7 separate regions of the Homo sapiens genome follow, and regions 2, 3, 4, 5, 6 and 7 are each linked to region 1. Evidence: promoter capture Hi-C in 16 types of primary human blood cells and fetal thymus (Javierre and others, 2016). All regions are on one chromosome and are shown on one strand. Each heading gives the region's core, a stretch centred on a gene start or on the middle of the fragment in contact. The rest is flanking DNA. Distances are from core to core; before and after follow the strand shown.

The links. Contacts are between HindIII fragments. The CHiCAGO score rates a contact against its expected background, and 5 or more counts as called.
Region 2: a contact is called between a fragment that was not itself captured here and the fragment with the promoter of POGLUT3 in region 1, in 4 of 17 cell types (fetal thymus, naive CD8 T cells, non-activated CD4 T cells and 1 more). The highest score is 6.4, in fetal thymus.
Region 3: a fragment that was not itself captured here is called in contact with the fragment with the promoter of POGLUT3 in region 1 in 5 of 17 cell types (total CD4 T cells, fetal thymus, naive CD4 T cells and 2 more); the score reaches 10.8 in total CD4 T cells.
Region 4: a fragment that was not itself captured here is called in contact with the fragment with the promoter of POGLUT3 in region 1 in 5 of 17 cell types (naive CD4 T cells, non-activated CD4 T cells, total CD4 T cells and 2 more); the score reaches 8.0 in naive CD4 T cells.
Region 5: a contact is called between a fragment that was not itself captured here and the fragment with the promoter of POGLUT3 in region 1, in 5 of 17 cell types (total CD4 T cells, non-activated CD4 T cells, total CD8 T cells and 2 more). The highest score is 8.3, in total CD4 T cells.
Region 6: a fragment that was not itself captured here is called in contact with the fragment with the promoter of POGLUT3 in region 1 in 4 of 17 cell types (naive CD4 T cells, naive CD8 T cells, total CD4 T cells and 1 more); the score reaches 6.7 in naive CD4 T cells.
Region 7: a contact is called between a fragment that was not itself captured here and the fragment with the promoter of POGLUT3 in region 1, in 5 of 17 cell types (total CD4 T cells, non-activated CD4 T cells, naive CD4 T cells and 2 more). The highest score is 7.1, in total CD4 T cells.

Annotation. Positions count from the first base shown.
Region 1 is chr11:108,496,955-108,499,654 of GRCh38, forward strand. POGLUT3 (protein O-glucosyltransferase 3) reads right to left here and starts at 1,430. Exons shown (of 8, transcript NM_153705.5): 1 at 1,211-1,430. The coding sequence starts at 1,412. LOC112267909 (a long non-coding RNA gene) reads left to right here and starts at 2,107. Exons shown (of 3, transcript XR_007062880.1): 1 at 2,107-2,696. RefSeq lists a silencer at 1,063-1,582. The HindIII fragment of the contact is 8,220 bases long and covers 1-2,700 here.
Region 2 is chr11:107,998,174-108,000,873 of GRCh38, forward strand. No RefSeq gene overlaps it. Among named protein-coding and RNA genes, the nearest start is that of CUL5, 9.4 kb to the right of the region's middle. The HindIII fragment of the contact is 4,041 bases long and covers 1-2,700 here.
Region 3 is chr11:108,025,465-108,028,164 of GRCh38, forward strand. All of the region lies in intron 1 of CUL5 (cullin 5), which reads left to right. Among named protein-coding and RNA genes, the nearest start is that of CUL5, 18 kb to the left of the region's middle. RefSeq lists an enhancer at 457-556. The HindIII fragment of the contact is 2,762 bases long and covers 3-2,700 here.
Region 4 is chr11:108,129,932-108,132,631 of GRCh38, forward strand. ACAT1 (acetyl-CoA acetyltransferase 1) reads left to right here. Exons shown (of 12, transcript NM_000019.4): 2 at 1,976-2,023. Among named protein-coding and RNA genes, the nearest start is that of ACAT1, 9.7 kb to the left of the region's middle. The HindIII fragment of the contact is 4,754 bases long and covers 1-2,700 here.
Region 5 is chr11:108,058,132-108,060,831 of GRCh38, forward strand. All of the region lies in intron 7 of CUL5 (cullin 5), which reads left to right. Among named protein-coding and RNA genes, the nearest start is that of CUL5, 51 kb to the left of the region's middle. The HindIII fragment of the contact is 1,371 bases long and covers 705-2,075 here.
Region 6 is chr11:108,151,467-108,154,166 of GRCh38, forward strand. No RefSeq gene overlaps it. Among named protein-coding and RNA genes, the nearest start is that of ACAT1, 31 kb to the left of the region's middle. The HindIII fragment of the contact is 5,634 bases long and covers 1-2,700 here.
Region 7 is chr11:108,090,125-108,092,824 of GRCh38, forward strand. All of the region lies in intron 13 of CUL5 (cullin 5), which reads left to right. Among named protein-coding and RNA genes, the nearest start is that of ACAT1, 30 kb to the right of the region's middle. The HindIII fragment of the contact is 5,776 bases long and covers 1-2,700 here.

The DNA of each region.
Region 1 (2,700 bases), core at 180-2,679:
GTCCTTCTATATGCCTGCCCAGCAAACCTTCTCATCCTTCAAGTCTCTGCTCCTGAAATCTTCCTGGATTTCTCCAGTCTCTGGCAGTGCTTCAATGTTGCCACTGCACTCTGTACATACCTTCAATTATCTTGTACAGTGATCAGTTATTTGCATGTCTTTGACCAACAGACTGTAAGTTCCTTGATGGTCAGGCATTGTCTTTTCATCCTTAGATTCCCAGCAGAATTACCAAACACAGAAGTAGACATCAAAGAAGTATTTCTTGAATGAATGAAATTTTAAAAATCATTAAATCTAAAAGTGAATTATGTTTGGTTCCTAAATTCTCTGCTTTGCCCAGCTGTCAAGACCCCCTTACCCCTTTCCCAAGTTGGGACACACTTCTGGCAGCTATGTTCCCAGCTGGACTAGCAGGGGCAGAGGCACTGGTTTATTCTAATTGTCTCTTCGCTGATACAACAAGGTGCTAGTTGGCCAGAGCCCCAAATTATACATTAGCAAATCCTGACTGACAACAGCGTGAAACCAGCAGGACAAGTTTTAAGAAGTTGCAAAGGTTAAGACGTGAAGGACAACGTGGGAGGAGGACCGGGCAGAAAGGGATTCAGGACGAGATCCATCTCACCCTCCGTGGAGGGAAAACCGAATGATTTCTACTGAGTTTCCCTAGTTCCTGTAATCTGCTTTCAAAAACTCAGAACTAAAAAGGAAACAAAAAACTAACACGTAAACCCCTCCTCCTTCCTACGGCTCTGACATTTCCTCTGCGTAGGATTTCGTTGCTCCAAACCCACCAGGCCTAAGCCATGTAATCCGACGCGATCCGTCGGCTTGATGACTCACCACTGGAAAGCGCTCCCTGCAATCCCTCACAGTTCAGACAACTAAGTCCGAGATGGAAGGCAACGTGTGACTCACGGCACACTCCTTGTAACGCCCGGGCGCCGTCCATTCGCAACATCAGTCCCTGCACATTAAATGCGGAAGGGCCCTTCAAGTTCATTCATTCATTCATTCCACAAACTTTCGTGGTGATTTTTGCCCGCTTTGAGTATGGGCGGGAGGAGGGAAGAGGAGCTGACCAGACCCAAAAAGGGGCGACACACGCCGGGGAGGGACGCCACGCAGGCCGCGGGCGGACTCCCGGGCGGCGGGGACGCGCGGGGACCCGGCCGCGGGACGAGGGAGGCCGGCGGCTGGACACTACCTGCGGGAGAGCGAGTGAGGTTCTGGCCCTCCGAGTTGACCGCCTGCAGGTAGAAATAGCGGACCGGCAGGACGACGGCCGCCTGCAGCCCGGGCCCCCACACCAGGCTCCGCGGCGCGCTGACCAGCACCTCCGGGGCCCCCGCGGCCACCAGCAGGGCGAGGCGCAGCTGCAGCAGCAGGGCCCGCGGGAGGCGGCGCATGGTCGGCGGGGCACAACTGCGGTCCAGCTCCGCGGCGGCGAGGAGGGGCCGGCAGCGCCGCGGACCGGGCGGGGACTGGGGCCCACCGCGGGGCGGGTCTTTCGGGCGGGAAAGATTGCGGCGCAGGCTCCCTTTCCCGCCCGCTGTCCCGCCTCGTCTCCCTCGGGCGGGAACGCGAGCCAGTGCCGCAATCACCCACTGCGCGCCCTGTAGGGGTCGACGATGGGTGCGCCCCTTCCTCCCCGCAGCCCCATAGGCCCCGTGGAGGAAAGGGGTGGAGAGGCCCGCCCAGAGACCGAGGCTGCGAGTGTGCGCTGGCTGTTGATTGCCAAGGCTTCAGGCACGCCTGGCCTCCACTTCCAGTGGTCTTTCCCTTTCTTTTTCTTCCTTCCTTTCCTTCTTTCTTCTCTTTTCTTTCTCTGTTTTTATACAGACAAGGGGGCTGGCTCTGTCGCCTAGGCTGGAGTGCAATGGCGCGACCACAGCTCACTGCAGCCTGGAACTCGTGGGCTCAGGAGATCCTCCCGCCTCAGCCTCCCGAGTAGCTGGGACTGACTGTAGGCACACGACACCACGCTGGCTAATTTAATTTATTATTATTATTATTATTATTATTATTATTATTATTATTACTATTACTATTTGTAGAGACGGGGTCTCCCTATGTTGCCCAAGGTGGTCTTGAACTCCTGGTTTCAAGCAATCCGCCCGCCTCGGCTTCCCAAAGTGCCGGGATTACAGGCATGAGCCACCGGGTCCGCCGCTCAGGTGTTTTTAAAGGACGTAGACCCGGTGGTGATTGTTGTGGGACGATGAAAGGGTCCGGCCCCAAGATCGATGTAGTTTAGGGAAATATCTTTTCCCAAGGAATGTCTCCGAGTTTACAAGATGAGCGCCAAGGTCACGCCCCCCGCCCTCCCTCACAGCCCTCTGTTCACAGCAGCACCGTTCTCTTGTGGCCGGTTTTGTTGCTTTTCTGCTTAGCAGCCTCCCTCACAGAACCGTGATCCCCCCACCCCACACATCCCTTTCCCCGCTTCCTCCCGCACTCCTCTTCTTCCAGCAGGTGTTTACAGAACATCCACGGAGTTTGGGCCAAGCCCAGAGTGAGGAGCTGGGCACTGGGGTGGCAGAAGACCAGGCCTTGCCTTGAGCCCTTGTGCGAGCTTTACCTCAAAGCCTCTGTAATCGAAGTGGGAGAAGGGGTGGTGGTGCGTGGTTGGTCTCAGCCACCTCCACCACTCCTCAGAAGATGAACGCTGGATCCAGGAAGAGATTGTCAAGGTTA
Region 2 (2,700 bases), core at 1-2,500, 500 kb before region 1:
ACACAGTGAAACCCCATCTCTACAAAAAAAGCAAAAAATTAGCCAGGATGCTCAGGAAGGCTGAGGTGGGAGGAACGATTGAGCCCAGGAAGCTGAGGTTGCGGTGAGCTGTGATCTCCCCAACTGCACTCTGGCCTGGGCAACAAAGCTAGACCCTCTCTCAAAAAAAAAAAACAAACAAAAAAAAAACCACTTGACCTTTCAAGATGCAATCTACAATACAGCTTTACTACCACAATGTAAATATTTTAAGCCCTGTTTGTTCCCTTATGCATATTCTCAATTGGCTCATAATTAGCATTTCTAATTATATTTTTTGAAATCACCAATATATTTTAGATAGCTGACTAAATTATGGAGCTCAATGGAGCAGAACAACATAAGCAGAATTGATCCTGAGCATTTTGAAGCATGCCTTGGAGACTAACAAAATAAAACAAAATTTAAAAGTGATAGGGGAAGTGGAGGCTAGTAAAAGGAGCAGCAAAATTTAGGTATTAATGTCGATGTGGGCCAGGAGCAGTGGCTCATGCCTATAATCCCAGCAGTTTAGGAGTCCGAGGTAGGTGGATCACTTGAGGTCGGGAGTTCGAGACCAGCCAGGCCAACATGGTGGAACGCTGTCTCTACTAAAAATACAAAAATTAGTTTGGCGTGGTGGCGCACGCCTGTAATCCCAGCTACTAGGGAGGCTGAGGCAGGAGAATTACTTGAACCCTGGAGGCAGAGGTTGCGGTTAGCCAAGATTGCACTGCTGCATTCCAGCCTGGGCAACAGACCAAGACTCTATCTCAAAAAAAAAAAAAAAAAAAAAAGTTGATGTGACCTCATTGCCTAGACTTGTGAAGTCTTGCAGTATTTTGATTTTATAAGTAATAAGTAGTTTACTAAGCAAAAGTATAGCACAATGCATCCTTTATACTATAACTATTAGATAGCTTTGGCACAGCAAAAATACTCTGACAATTTACTTCAGATATGAATCAATTAAGAAATTGAATTTCATGTAAAAAGTAAATCTGTAAATTACATTACTAAAATCTTATTTTCAAATGGTTCATTTTTATCTTGTTAATTGTCTGAACTGAGCATATTTAAAAATAAGTTATGCCAGGCCCGGTGGCTCACGCCTGTAATCCCAGCCCTTTAGGAGTCTGAGGCAGGCAGATCACGAGGTCAGGAGTTCGAGACCAGCCTGACCAACATGGTGAAACCCCATTAGCTGGGCGTGGTGGTGTGCCTGTAATCCCAGTTACTCAGGAGGCTGAGGCAGGAGAATCGCTTGAACCCAGGAGGCAGAGGTTGCAGTGAGCCGAGATTGCGCCATTGCAATCCAGCCTGGGTGACAGAGTGAGACTCCATCTCAAAATAAATAAATAAATAAATAAATAACATAAAAATAAAGTTAGATAAGGCTTTTAAGTAATAGTAGCATAAATAAAAAGTATTATTATAAAATTTAAAAATAAAATTCTAGTTAGATGAAGTCTCCCAAATGATAGCATTAATAAAAAGTGTCATAATTCTCCAACGGCTGCTCATTTTTGTTTCTTCTACTTAGTGCCACTTAGACAAGATAAATTGTTTGTCTTTTCTGGTATTTAAAAAGTGAACAGTTATGGATAATGAAACAAGTATCAGAAGTGTTGGTATATGTGTGTTGTGTACGTGTGTTTCTTTGAGGGTCTGTCTGAAATTCTCCTTAAGCCAAGTCAACCTGATCTCAGGTAGCTCTTGCCAGTGTAGTTAACTGATATTCCACTGGGGGTAGCTGTTGAAATAGAGTTTTGAACACCACCCATCCCAGCTGCTGCAAACCCAACCGTGGCCACTGAGGGGGCACCAAAGTGGGAGGTTAAGGAGCCTGGAGTTGAAAACCTCAGACTTGCATTCTTTCCAAGGAGAGTTTCCAGCGGCTGGAAAATCTATTTACTGACAGAGGAAAGGAGAGGGGTGAGCTTGACTTAGTCACTGGAGCAAACAGGTCTAGAGGATAAGAAAACACATCCAGTAAAAACATCAGAAAACCTAGAACCATCTCAGGTTAACCACCTGCCCCATGTGAAGAGTCAGGGTACATTGTGGGAGCGAGTCCACAGTTGTAGACAGGGGCACAGAGGAACCAGGGTCGGAGGCAGCCACAGGAAAGGTGAAGTGAAGGTTCAGAAGTGAAGGGTCCACCTCACAGGACAAGAGAAGCATGCCCTGAGCATTTTGGTCGCTGTTTTCTTTGATTTTATTCTCTGAAACCATCCTTCAGGCAGGAAAAGCCTTGGATCACAATTTGGAAGACCTGCATCTAGTCCCAGTTACATCCATCAACAACACTAGCTAATACAGTGGAAGATAAACCGGCCCTAAGCAAATCCACAGGGTGCAAGTTGGTCAGCCCATCGGGTTGGTTAAAATATCCATTTGTGGCTGACTGTGGTGACTCCTGCCTATAATCCCAGCACTTTGGGATGCTGAGGTGGGCAGACCACCTGAGGTCAGGGGTTTGAACCAGCCTGGCCAACGTGGCGAAACCCCATCTATGCTAAAAATATAAAATTAGCTGGGCATGGTGGCACGCACCTGTAATCCCAGGTACTTGGGAGGCTGAGGCTGGAGAATCGCTTGAACCCAGGAGTGGGAGGTTGCGGTGAGCCGAGATCGCGCCATTGCACTCCAGCCTGGGCAACAAGAGCAAAACTCTGACTC
Region 3 (2,700 bases), core at 134-2,633, 470 kb before region 1:
GAAGCTTACCTTTAAGTTTCGTTAGAGTGTGTCCAGAATATCACTCGGGGTAGGGCTACTTTGGCTCCACTATAGACTCAATAACTTTCTGTGGACTCTACCCAATGCCTGGCACTTTAAAGGGTGTTTCCACTCTGGCTGGTAGCAACACTAACTGTTTCTGGCCCTGTGTGCACTCTGCTGATTGTTCTGCCCATTCCCATTCCTTCCTAATGGTTCTTTCCCCAGTCTCTTACAGTTTTCTCACACCCAGGTACAGGTTAGTACTCAGCCACAGGCCTCAGGGACCTTCTGTATAGATACCCAGAGCTCCCTTGATGCCACAAATTCTAGTCACCTCAGCCTTTTCAAACTCTGAACTCTGCCTCTTAAATGTAGTGAAACCCCTAGCGGCTGTTTGGGTTTCCCCTCCTTGTGATGAGGCCTGGAGACACTCTCTAGGCAGTATGTTTGGACATTTGTAGCGCTCACCTCATTTGTTTTTCTTTTCTCAGGAAGCGCTGTCCTGCACTGCTTTTGGTTTTCTAGTTTGTTTAGGCAGGAGGGAAAATCTGGTTCCTGTTATTCTGTCATGATGGGAAGCAGAAGTCTCTTTCTCTTTTCACCTTGAAGTCCATTTTCTCCGCCTTACCCAACATAAATTCTCTTCTCAATCATTATAGTTGTTCCCTTCAATACACTTTTTGCTTCCTTGCCCCTGTCTTGTTCTGCTTGGGAAAAGTGTACAACCCTGGTTAAATCTGTCTCTTCACTTTTCAGTGCCAGTACCTGTGCAGCTGAATGTCACTCGAGAAAAAGACACAACCGTGCTATTTGCACCTTAAATCCATGACCACAATGAGGCCAGTCATACTGCATTTCCAGAGTCACTTATTCTTCCACTTTCCTAGATGTATTTTTCACATCTTTTCTGTCAACATTCTAACATTTCCTCCCCGATCTTCTCAGACATTGTCGTTATTTCCACATCACTGGGAAATTAAAGCAATAAAATATGAACTTCTCAGAGTCGTACGACATCTATCCTTGTACCAGCACCTACATGTACATTCTTTTGCCTTCTCCTCTTAGCCTGTAGTCACTTCCTCCACATATGCGCTAGATCCCATTCCCTCTTGCCTATCCAGTGCAATTTAAATTCACTAGCAGTTTCTCTCCCTTTCCCCACATCATCAACATTTCATATCCTGGAATGTTCCTGTCAGCATACAATCATACTGTATCCTAGCTTTAAAAAATTATTTGGCCAGGCGCAGTGGCTCACGTTTGTAATCCCAGCACTTTGGGAGGCTGAGGTGGGCGGATCACGAGGTCAGGAGTTCGAGACCACCCTGGCCAATGTGGCGAAACCCCATCTCTACTAAAAATAGAAAAATTGGCTGGGCATGGTGGCGGGCACCTGTATTCCCAGCTACTCGGGAGGCTGAGGCAGGAAAACCACTTGAACTTGGGAGGCGGAGGTTGCAGTGAGCAGAGATCACGCCACTGCACTCCAGCCTGAAAGACAGAGTGAGACTCCGTCTCAAAAAAAAAAAAAAAAAAATTATTATTTTTTCACTTCCTCTCACCCTATCAATTACCATGCCATTTCTTTACTCTCTTATACAGGAAAAATTGTGAAGGGTTGTCTGTACTCTTTCTAGTTTTCTTCTTATTTATTTTTGTTTTTATTTACTATTTGTTTTTTGAGATAGGGTCTCACTGTCGCTGTCGCCTAGGCTGGAGTGCAGTGGCGCCATCATGGCTCACTGCAACCTCCGCCTCCAGGCCTTAGTAGCTGGGATTATAGGCGCCACCATGCCCAGCTAATTTTTTTTTTTTTTCTTTGAGACAGTCTCCCCCTGCTGTCCAGGCTGGAGTGCAGTGGCACAATCTTGGCTCACTGCAAACTCCGCCTCCCAGGTTCAAGCAATTCTCCCACCTCAGCCTCCTGAGTAGCCGGGATTACTGGGGCCTACCACCACACCCAGCTGATTTTTGTATTTTCAGTAGAGACAGGGTTTCACCATGTAGGTCAGGCTGGTCTCGAACTCCTGATGTCAAGTCATCCACCCACCCCGGCCTCCCAAAGTGCTGGGATTACATGTGTGAGCCACCGTGCCCAGCCAAATTTTTTGTATTTTTAGTAGAGACAGGCTTTTTCCATGTTGCCCAGGCTGGTCTCGAACTCCTGGGCTCAAGTGACCCGCCCGCCTCAGCCTCCCAGTGTTGGGATTACAAGCATGAACTATTGCGCCTGGCTCCTCGTTTCTCTTAATTCCACTCTTCATTCCACTCTAATCTGGTATTTGTCCTTACTACTCTGCAAAAACTTCTGTGGACAAAGTTTCAGTAACTTCCATATTGCTGTTTCAGTGGTTATCTTACCTGATCTGTCAGGAGAAATTCTTAAAATTGATTATTCTGTCTTTCTGACACACTTTATTTACTTTTTGTCCAGAATACCATACTCTTGGTTTTCTTGCCACCTGTGCTCTGGTTGCTCTCTTTGTCTCCTTTGCTAGTTCTTACTCCTCTCTCCGCCTCTTAATGTTGGATATCTAAAACCTCAGGCTTGGGTCTCCATCTTTATGTATCACTTCTCTCACAGTGATCTCATCCAATAACAGGTTTTAAAACCCATCTGTATTCTGATGACTTCAAGTTTTTATTTTCTGATAGGCCTTTTAAATTCTAGATTTCCATATTGGACTGCCTATT
Region 4 (2,700 bases), core at 12-2,511, 370 kb before region 1:
TTATATATGAAAATTTTCAAACAAAATAAATTGCAACTGACCCTGCCAGAACCCAAGCTAGAAAATCACTAACCAAAGCCATCTTTTGCCTCTTGTGGTGTGCCATGGTCTATTTCTCCTGTCTCTGAGTATATATGTTGCATTCTTTTGCTTCTCAGTGTATTCATGGCTTTTCTCTTTGTTCTAACCGCTGCTTTTCTGTGGCATTGGCTGGTCAGCTCCAGCCCCTTTTGACTTTTCAGTCCCAGTCCCCACCGTCATCCAACTGACCCAGTCTCTCTGGGTCCTAGCTTGGGTGAGTCCATTCCATTCTTGATCCCATCAGCTCTGGCCAGAGGCAGGGGAGTCACCTTGTAAGTACTTAGGGTTGTCCTTTGAGAAAGACATGTGTTTGGAGAGGCAGTGACCGGCATGTTTACTACAAGTAGGAACTTTTTTTTTTGTAAGTTTTTAAATTATTATTTTTTAAATTTATTATCATTTTTTGAGACTCGCTCTGTCGCCCAGGCTGGAGTACAGTGGCGTGATCTTGGCTCACTGCAAGCTCTGCCTCCCAGGTTCAAGTGATTCTCCTGCCTCAGACTCCTGAGTAGCTGGGCTTACATGCATGGACCACCACACCCAGCTAACTTTTATATTTCTAGTAGAGACGGGGTTTGACCATGTTGGTCAGGCTGGTCTTGAACTCCTGTCCTCATGATCCACCCGCCTCGGCCTCCAAAGTGCTGGGATTACAGGCATGAGCCACTGCGCCCAGCTACTGATAGTCTAATTTCAGATCAGTAGGTCTCTGAATTGTGTCCTGCGTTGTCAGAATTAATTAATTAATCTATTTATTATGGAGTTTCACTCTTGTCTCCCAGGCTGGAGTGCAGTGGCGTGATCTTGGCTCACTGCAACCTCCGCCTCCTGGGTTCAAGCAATTCTTCTGCCTCATCCTCCTGAGTGGCTGGGATTACAGGTGCCCGCTACCACGCCTGGCTAATTTTTGTATTTTTAGTAGAGACGGGGTTTTTTCGCCAAGTTGGCCAGGCTGATCTCTAACTCCTGACCTCCAGTGATATGCCCACCGCAGCCTTCCAAAGTGTTGGGATTACAGGCGTGAGCCACTTGCCCAGCCTACTGTTGACATTTGTTCCTAAGAAGTGTGGAAAGAACTGAGAAGTAGTAGGGGCAAGATGTTTACTCTTTCCTTTTTTAAGAAATAATTTATCTGCTATTATAGGTCATATTTATATGAGATGTGTTTGCCTCATATAAATCAGACAATTGTTGGAAGTGGATAGGGAGAAACAGCAAGTTTTACTTGAAAACAATCTTAAAAAATGAAAATATCTTGTTAGATTCTAAGACTAAATAATTTAGAACCTAGCTTTAACTCAAAACTACATTTTAGAAAGCTATATTTAAGAAAGACTTGGAATTTTTTTTTTTTTTTTTTAGACAGTCTTGCTTTGTTGCCAAGGCTGGAGTGTAGTCCCAGAATCTTGGCTCACTGCAACCTCCGCCTCCTGGGTTCAAGCTATTCTCCTGCCTCAGCCTCTGAAGTAGCTGGGATTATAGGCATGTGCCACAATGCTGGGCTAACTTTTGTATTTTTAGTAGAGACTGGGTCTCACCACGTTGTCCAGGCTGGTCTTGAACTCCTGACCTCAGGTGATCCGTCCACCTTGGCCTCCCAAAATGCTAGGATTACAGGCATGAGCCACCACGCCTGGCCAAGACTTGGAAATTTTAAGATAGTAAACTTAAGAGTTAAAACGTACATTTCCAATGAATAGTTAATTAGAAAAGTTTATTATAAAGCAGTCATTTTTTTCTAATTGTTAAAAGTGATATATTCTGACCACAAAAAACTTGGAAATAAAAGCATAAGGATGCAGGAAGAAACCACTATAACCTTATCACTGAGAAATATAAAATGATATAGTTTAATATTTTTTACATTATAACATTATAAATATTTATATTACAGGAAATAAGATATGTGGAACGGAGTTATGTATCAAAACCCACTTTGAAGGTAAGTAATTTAAATTGTGCTTTAAAATTTCCAGAATTTAAAGGAAATGTCAATAAAAATGCATATACTTATGATTTGGATACATGTGAAAGTCAAAGCAGGATTATGTAACAGTTAGGAATAGCTAACTATTCAAATATTCAGTTAAAGTAGATGACTATAATAGAAAAACATGTCAGTTAGTCTCTGCCAATGTTTGTTGCTTCCTTATAGTCTGCTACAAAACAACATTCCCTCTAGAACTGGGCAGTGTTCTTCTTTTACTCACAGGGACTCGCATTGTATTGTGTGTGGTACAAGCAGAGACTGTATAGAAGATCCTAGAAGAGAGGGAGTGGACCAGTTGGGAATTAGACAAGGAGGGCCATTACAGCATCTCCTAGGACCTTCTGAAGAGTCTCTGTTTTGTAAGGGTCACTAAAGTGACTTAGTTAAGATCTTCTATCAAAATCTAAGCAACCATTCTGTTATTTATCTCTAAACTTAATAGGAGATTGTGGAAGACAAGTGTAAGGAGAGAACTGTCACAGTGCTGTTTTATAGTATTCAAGAGAGCTTTTATCTTCTTTTGCTTAAAGTTCATATTATTGTCTTACTGTTTAAGAAATTATGGCTCTGGGCCGGGTGCGGTGGCTCACACCTGTAATCCCAGCACTTTGGGAGGCCGAGGCAGGTGG
Region 5 (2,700 bases), core at 140-2,639, 440 kb before region 1:
CTGGGAGGCAGAGGTTGCAGTGAGCCGAGATTGCGCCACCACACTCCAGCCTGGGCGATAGAGCAAGACTCTGTCTCAAAAAAAAAAAAAAAAAAGAATATTATGAAGAGTGCCTTTTTTTTTTTTTTTTTTTTTGAAACATAGCCCTGATGTGTCACCCAGGCTAGAGTGCAGTAGTGCAGTCTCCGCTCACTGCAACCTCTGCTTCCCAGGTTCATGTGATTCTCATGCCTCAGCCTCCCGAGTAGCTGGGACTACAGGTGCCCACCACCACACCCGGCTAATTTTTTGTATTTTTAGTAGAGACAGGGTTTCACCGTGTTAGCCAGGATGGTCTTGATCTCCTGACTTCGTGATCTGCCCGCGGCGGCCTCCCAAAGTGCTGGGATTACAGACGTGAGCCACTGCACCCGGCCCAAAGTGATTTTTTTTTTTTTAAATGAAGTAAGAGTAATACTATAGAGTGTATTGGTGGTGGTAATGCTTCTCCTGCTGCTTTTACTTTATGGAATATGGTCAGAAAAGATCTCTGAGGGAATGATATTGGAGTTAAGACCTGAATGATAGGGAACTAGCCTTGTGAAGATCTGAGACAGTTAAGTGTTGCATTAGATGTCTGAAGCCCTACTCTTACAGTTTTATTTTTACTTATAGGAGAGCCACTTAGACCCTACTTAGATCTGATTTTACATACAATTCTAATAAGCTTGATTATCACTCGCTGGGCCTATAGCAGATGAACAGAAATGTATTGAATGTATTTAATGTAAAACAAGGTAAGAGGCTTCCGAGCTGTGCTGCTGAACAGGCATGTTGACAGCAAAAAGTAACACAACCATAAGAAAAGAGCAAGAAAAAAAATTAAGCCAAATGCCTTTTGTGTTTTAAGAGGCAGAGTCTCGCTATGTTGCCCAGGCTGGAGTGCAGTGGCTGTTCACAGGTTTGATCATAGTGCACTGCATTCTCGAATTCCTGGCCTTCAGCAGTCTTCCCACCTCAGCCTCCTGAGTTGCTGGGACAGTAGGCGCATGCAACCACACCCAGCTTTAAGCCAAAATGACTTAAAATTTGTGTTTGGTTTTTAGTTTTTAGGTGATAGTCCTGCATACCTTAGTATTTCCTGGGGAAATTCAATTAGTATTTATTATATACCCACAGTGTGTCAGGCATTATGCTAGTTGGGGATAATAAGATAGACCTAGTCCCTATCCTCAGGATGACACTAGAATAAAATGGATTGTTTATACAATAGAGGAATAGAAAAGTGAATTGGTAGTGTAAGTCTTGATCACTTCAGAATGACCAGGGCACCGATAGGGAGGGAGTGTATTACAGTGGTTAGGGTCATACATGTTGGAATTAGATGAGGATTTGAATCCCACAGATGTTATTTTACCAGCTGTCTGCGTTTTGGCAAGTTATTCAACCTTTGTAGTCTCTCTTTTCCTAACTATAAAATGGAATAGGCCGGGCGCGGTGGCTCACGCCTGCAATCCCAGCACTTAGGGAGGCCGAGATGGGTGGATCATGAGGTCAGGAGTTCAAGACCAGCCTGGCCAACACGGTGAAACCCTGTCTCTACTAAAAAAAAAATACAAAAAAATTAGTTGGGCGTGGTGGCACGCACCTGTAATCTCAGCTACTCGGGAGGCTGAGGCAGGAGAATCGCTTGAACCCAGGAGGCGGAGGTTGCAGTAAGGAGAGATCACACCATTGCGCTCCAGCCTGGGTGACAGAGCGAGACTCTGTCTAAAAAAAAAAAAAAAATTGAATAATACCCTTTTGTATTAGCAGAATTAAATGAAATATGTTACATTAAGCATTTGAGCACTGTGCCTGGCATGATAGCTTTTACTGTTAGGCACTGGTTCAGAGAAAACTGCTTACTAATTCTAAGACAAGTAAAAACTATTTTACCATCTGTGCAAAACTGATTTAAAAAGCTGAATAAGCAACTAGGTCACAAGTTATAAATTATTAACATTAAAATAAGCACTTATTAACCTTCAGTATTTTGGTATTTCAGGCATGGTATCCTCTCCACAGAGGAGGTCTAAAATTAAAAAAAAAAATTAAGCTTGGTGTTCAAAAAGACAAGGTGATCCAGACTTTTGTAGTGCCACTAATGATAGTAGTACAGAAAGAATCTTAGTCAAACTAGAAAGGCCAGGAAATTAATTATTGAATACATTACAGATATCCTTGTATGGTTAAGGGCCTGATAATGATAGAGTAGAATCATAAAGTGGGGGAACTTAAGATAATTTTTAGTTCAACTCTTACGTTGTAGCTGAGGCAAAGCAAACTATTCCTTATACAGAGCTATATAACTAATGAAAATCAGAAATGCTTTTTTTTTTAAACGAAATTTGAGCGAGGTAGAAATAATTATGCAAATTGAATACCACTAAAAGAAGAATCTGGCTGGATGCCGTGGCCCACGCCTCTAATCCCAGCACTTTAGGAGGCCGAGGCGGGTGGATCACCTGAGGTCAGGAGTTCAAGACCAGCCTGGCTAACATGGTAAAGCCCTGTTTCTACTAAAAATACAAAAAATTACCCGGGCATGGTGGTGCGTGCCTGTAATCTCAGCTACTCGGGAGGCTGAGGCAGGAGAATCGCTTGAACCCGGGAGGCGGAGGTTGCAGTGAGATCGCGCCATTGCACTCCAGCTTGGGCAACGAGTGAAACTGTCTCAAA
Region 6 (2,700 bases), core at 169-2,668, 350 kb before region 1:
ACTAAAAGTACAAAATTAGCCGGGCGTGGTCGTGCATACCCGTAATCCCAGCTACGTGGGAGGCTGAGGCAGGAGAATCGTTTGGGCCAGGGAGGTGGAGGTTGTGGTGAGCTGAGATCATGCCACTGCACTCTAGCCTGGGCAACAAGAGCGAAACTCTGTCTCAAAAAAAAAAAAAAAAAAAAAAAAAAAAAAAAAAAGTAAAAAGGGTTGCATGTATCATAAATTATGAGAAGGCAGAAACTGTTAAAATGGGGAAAGAACTACTTTTTATGATGGTCTACTTTGTACTTTTTTTTTTGGCAGAAAAAAAGCCAAAGCTATGACCAAGATAATAATGTTTCATGGATTAAACAAACACTTGTGAAAAAAGTATTAAAGCAAAGACAGGATTCAAACAGTATAAGACTGAATACATATCAAACTTTACCTTTCTAAACAATACCTATTTCTTTTTTAACTTTTTTTTTGAGATAGGGTCTTGCTCTGTTGCCCAGGTTGTAGTGCAGTGGCATGGTCTCATCTCACTGCAGCCTTGACTTCCTGGGCTCAAGTGATACACCCACCTCAGCCTCCCTGGTAGCTAGGACCACAGGTGCATACTACCATGCCTGGCTAATTTTTGGTAGAGATGGGGGTTTCATCATGTTGCCCAGGTTGGTCTCGAACTCCTGGGCTCAAGTGATCTGCCTGCCTTGGCCTCCCAAAGTGCTGGGATTACAGGTGTGAGCCACCATGCCCAGCCAACATTACCTATTTCTAAGCCCCCGTGCAACATTTATAAAACCTGCAACTTATCCTGACCACAATAATAAAAATTTTAGGCAAAAAAGAGCCTGGTATCATTTATTGTAAATAGTTATGTATGAATATTAAAAGTACTTACCCAAATTTTGCTGAAAGTTGAAATCAGAAGCAAATTCACAGCCTTAAATGCTTACATGGTTTAAGAAGGGGAAAAAAAAATCAGATAACTGTTTATTAATTTAAGTTAAATAAACATGCAAAAAGGACCCTGAGAAAGTAGGAAGCACAAAGAATAGGCTCCTATACAACTGTTGAATCTAAGAAGTGTTTTTGACAGAAAAAAGTTAATTGTATCTTAGAGAACAAAAGCCAAAATTAAAAAAAATGTGATATTTGACTCAGGAAAAAAAAGGTCAAAGCCTGAATAGATAATCAGCCAGGAAGAAATTTAGGAGAAAAAAAAATGGAAAACTGCTTAAGCAAAAGGCTCCAGGCCTAGATAATTTAGTAGTGATTTAGTCTCAAGGAACAGTTATTTCTCATTCTAAATAAACTGTTGCAGAAAAAAGAAATAAAAAACAGCATCAGCTATAATAGCAACTAGTTCTTAAAGTGCTTATTATGTTCCAGGCATTAATCTAAGTGCTTTTACATATATTGTACAATTTAAACTTCACACTTTAGCACTGGTACTATTTATTATCCCCAATATTCAAATAAACTAGAAAAAGAAGGAAAGGTTTAAAATTCATTTTAAAAACTGGCATAAGTTTGAAACCAATCTCATTAAAAGTAAACTTTTCATTGGGTGTGTTGGTGTGCACTTGTAGTCCCAGCTACTCATGAAGTTGAGGCAGGAGGATCCTTTGAGCCCAGTAGTTCAAGGCTATAGTGGGCTATGACTGTGCCCATGAACAGCCACTGCACTCTAGCCTGGGCAATATAGCAAGACCTTGTCTCAAAAACAAAAACCAAAAACATTTAAATAAAATATTCACAAAGCAAACTTACTTAAAATAATCACTAATATAAAAAGAAATTCATGAGTTCAATGAAAATATTTTAATTGATGCTTAAACGTGGCAATTAAGTTGAACAGGTACTTCTGATGTAAAATCGTAAAACTCTACCAACAAAAGCAAACATTATACTTAATAAAAGCAAACATTATACCTAACATTGCCATTAAAATGGGGAACAAGACAATGAAGCAGACTTTGATCATTATTAGTTGCACTGGAAGTGCTAATATCAGTGTAGTAAAAATAAATAAAATTGGAAAATAATTATTTACAGATAATACTTCACAAATTAAAAAGTAGCACTGGTAAATCCATTAGTACTAACAGACTTCACTCAGTATAGAAAATAAATAGAACTAAAATATAAAAGATTTTGGGACTGGCACAGTGGCTCACGCCTGTAATCCCAGCACCTCGGGAGGCTGAGGTGGGTGAATCACCTGAGGTCAGGAGTTCAAGACCAGCCTGGACAATATGGTGAAACCCTGTCTCTACTAAAAATACAAAAATTAACTGGGTGTGGTGGCGCACAACTGTAATCCCAGCTACTGAGGAGGCTCAGGAAGGAGAATTGCTTGAACCTGGGAGGCGGAGGTTACAGTCACCAGAGATGACACCAATGCCCTCTGGCCTGGGCGACAGAGTGAGACTATCTCAAAAAAAAAAAAAAAAAGATTTTCAACATTAATTAAGACAGTGTGTTATTAGCACATCTTAAAGAAAGCAGACCAATGGAACAGCATAGAGTCCAGAAACAAACCTACACATTTACCAGCTTATGAGAAAAGTAACTGTGCAATGTAGTTGGGAAAGGATAATCTTTGGTAATAAATAGTGTGGGTTAATTGTATATCAATGTGGAAAATCAATTCCAGATAGATGGTCAAATCAAAATGAAATAGGTTGAACCATAACGCTTTCAGAAGAATAA
Region 7 (2,700 bases), core at 160-2,659, 410 kb before region 1:
TCTTGAGTTGTTTCTACTGTTTCACTCCCATTTGTACCTCAACTCTCATTTAAACTGACCTTATTAATAAATAGACTACAGGGGCTGGGCACGGTGGCTCACACCTATAATCCCAGCACTTTGGGAGGCCAAGGCAGGTGGATCACAAGGTCAGGAGATCGAGACCATCCTGGCTAACACAGTGAAACCCAGTCTCTATTAAAAATACAAAAAAATTAACGAGGCGTGGTGGTGGGGGGCCTGTAGTCCCAGCTACTTGGGAGGCTGAGGCAGGAGAATGGCATGAACCCTGGGGGGCGGAGCTTGCAGTGAGCTGAAATCGAGCCACTGAACTCCAGCCTGGGTGACAGAGCAAGACTCCATCTCAAGAAAAATAAAATAAATAAATAGACTGCAGGACAAATTATTATATCTTTAAGGTATTTTCAGTACTAAATGCTTAACTTTAGAGATGTTTATAAATGATAACAATAAATACTTCTGTATAGCAAAAAGAACCTTTAAATGATGGCCTATTTAGGGTAATCAATGCTGATTATAACTAAATTCCCATATAAAGTATTTTGAGTTCTTTTTTTGTTTTAATTATTAAAGTAAATATCTTTAATTTCTGTGTATGTATATAACTCTCTCCACATATATATGGAGAGAGAGAGAGTGCGAGCAAGCACACACGAGAGAGACCTACAGATATTTTAACTTATAGCTAGCCCTTCGCATGGAACTTTAGGATAGTAAAAATTACTGTGCTAACTGAAACTGCTTAGTAGGAAAAAGAATGATTATTCTGTGACTTTTTAAAACTATTGTCAAAAGACTCAAAACTCTTACTGTCACTTATAAGTATATAGGAAAAAGGGGAAAATAGCAAAACTAATACATATTTACTACGAGAAACCTTTAGAATTAAATTTTCTTTCTTTCTTTCTTTTTTTCTTTTTTTTGGAGATGTAGTCTTGCTGTGTTACCCAGGCTGGATTGCAGTGGTGCAATCTTGACTCACTGAAACCTCTGTCTCCCAGATTCAAGCAATTCTCCTGTCTCAGCCTCCTAAGTAGCTGGGACTACAGGTTTGTGCCATGACGCCTGGCTAATTTTTGTATTTTTAGTAGAGACACGGTTTTGCATGTTGGCCAGGCTGGTCTTGAAATCCTGGTCTTAAGTGATCCGCCTGCCTCGGCCTCCCAAAGTACTGAGATTACAGGCGTGAGCCACCACACCCGGCCTATGTTATTTCTTTGTTAAAAAAAAAATATCAAGACCCAACAGTAAAATGACAAACAAGGCTAGGCATGGTGGCTCACACCTGTAATCCCAGCACTTTGGGAGGCTGAGGAGGGCAGATGGCTTGTGCTCAGAGTTTGAGATGAGCCTGGGCAACGTGGTGAAACCCCATCTCTACAAAAATTTAAAAAATTAGCTGGGTGTGATGGCATGCACCTTAGTCCCAGCTGCTTGGGAGGCTGAGGTGGGAGGATCGCCTGAGCCTGTGAGGTGGAGGTTGCATTGAACAGAGATCTTACCACTGTACTCCTGCCTGAGCAACAGAGTCAGATCCTGTCTCTCTCACTCACACACACACACACACACACACACACACACACACACGACAAATAATTAAAAGCAGGCAAAGGATTCGAATTGACATCTCTTCACAGAAGATAGACAGATGGCCAATAAGTGCATGCAAAGATACTCAACATCATTAGTCATTAGTGAAATGCAAGTGAAATGCTCAACATGTTGGCTCCTGCTTATCCCAAATATTTTGAAAGGCTGAGGTGGGAGGATTGCATGAAGCCAGGAGTTAGAAACTACCCTGGGCAAAATAACAATACTCCATGTCTACAAAAAATACAGAAATCAGCTAGGCATGGTGATGTGTGCCTGTGGTTCTAGCTACTCAGGAGGCTGAGATGGGATGATTGCTTGAGCCCAGAAGTTCAAAGTTGTAATGAGCTGAGATTGTGCCACTGCACTGCAGCCTGGGCAACAGAGTGAGACCCTTTCTCAAAAACAAAAAAAACACAAAGAGATACTACTTTATTCCCACTAGGGTAGCTAAAATAAAGACAGATGATAACAAATGCTAGTAAGGAAGAGGAGAAATTGGAACCTTCGTAAGTTGCTAGTGGAGACATAAGATGGTGCAGACACTTTGGAAAACTGTTGGGCAGTTCCTTAAAATGTTGAACGTAGAGCTGACCCAGCAATTTCACTCTTAGGTAATTCATTTGAAGAGAAATGAAAACATGTTTCATGTAAAAACTTGTAAACAAATGTTCATGGCAAGATTACTAATAATAGTCAAAAAGTGGAAACAACCCAAAATGTCAGTGAGCTAATGAATAAAATGTGATTTATCCATACAATGGAATATTTTTTGTGATAAAAAGGAATAAACTAATAATACATGCTGCAATATTAGGTGAACTTTGAAAACATAATGCTGAGTGAAAGAAGCCAATCCCAAAGACCATATCGTATGATTCCACTAATGTGAAGTGTCCAGAATAGGCAAATCCACAAATTCCAGGAGTTGGGGCCAGGAGGGGAAATGACGAGTGACTGTAAATAGTATGGGGTTTCTTTTTGGGGTGATGAAAATGTTCTAAAATTAGATAGTGGTGATGGTTGCACAGTTCTGTAGATATACTAAACTTCATTACACTGTATATTTTATTTTTATTTTTATTTTTT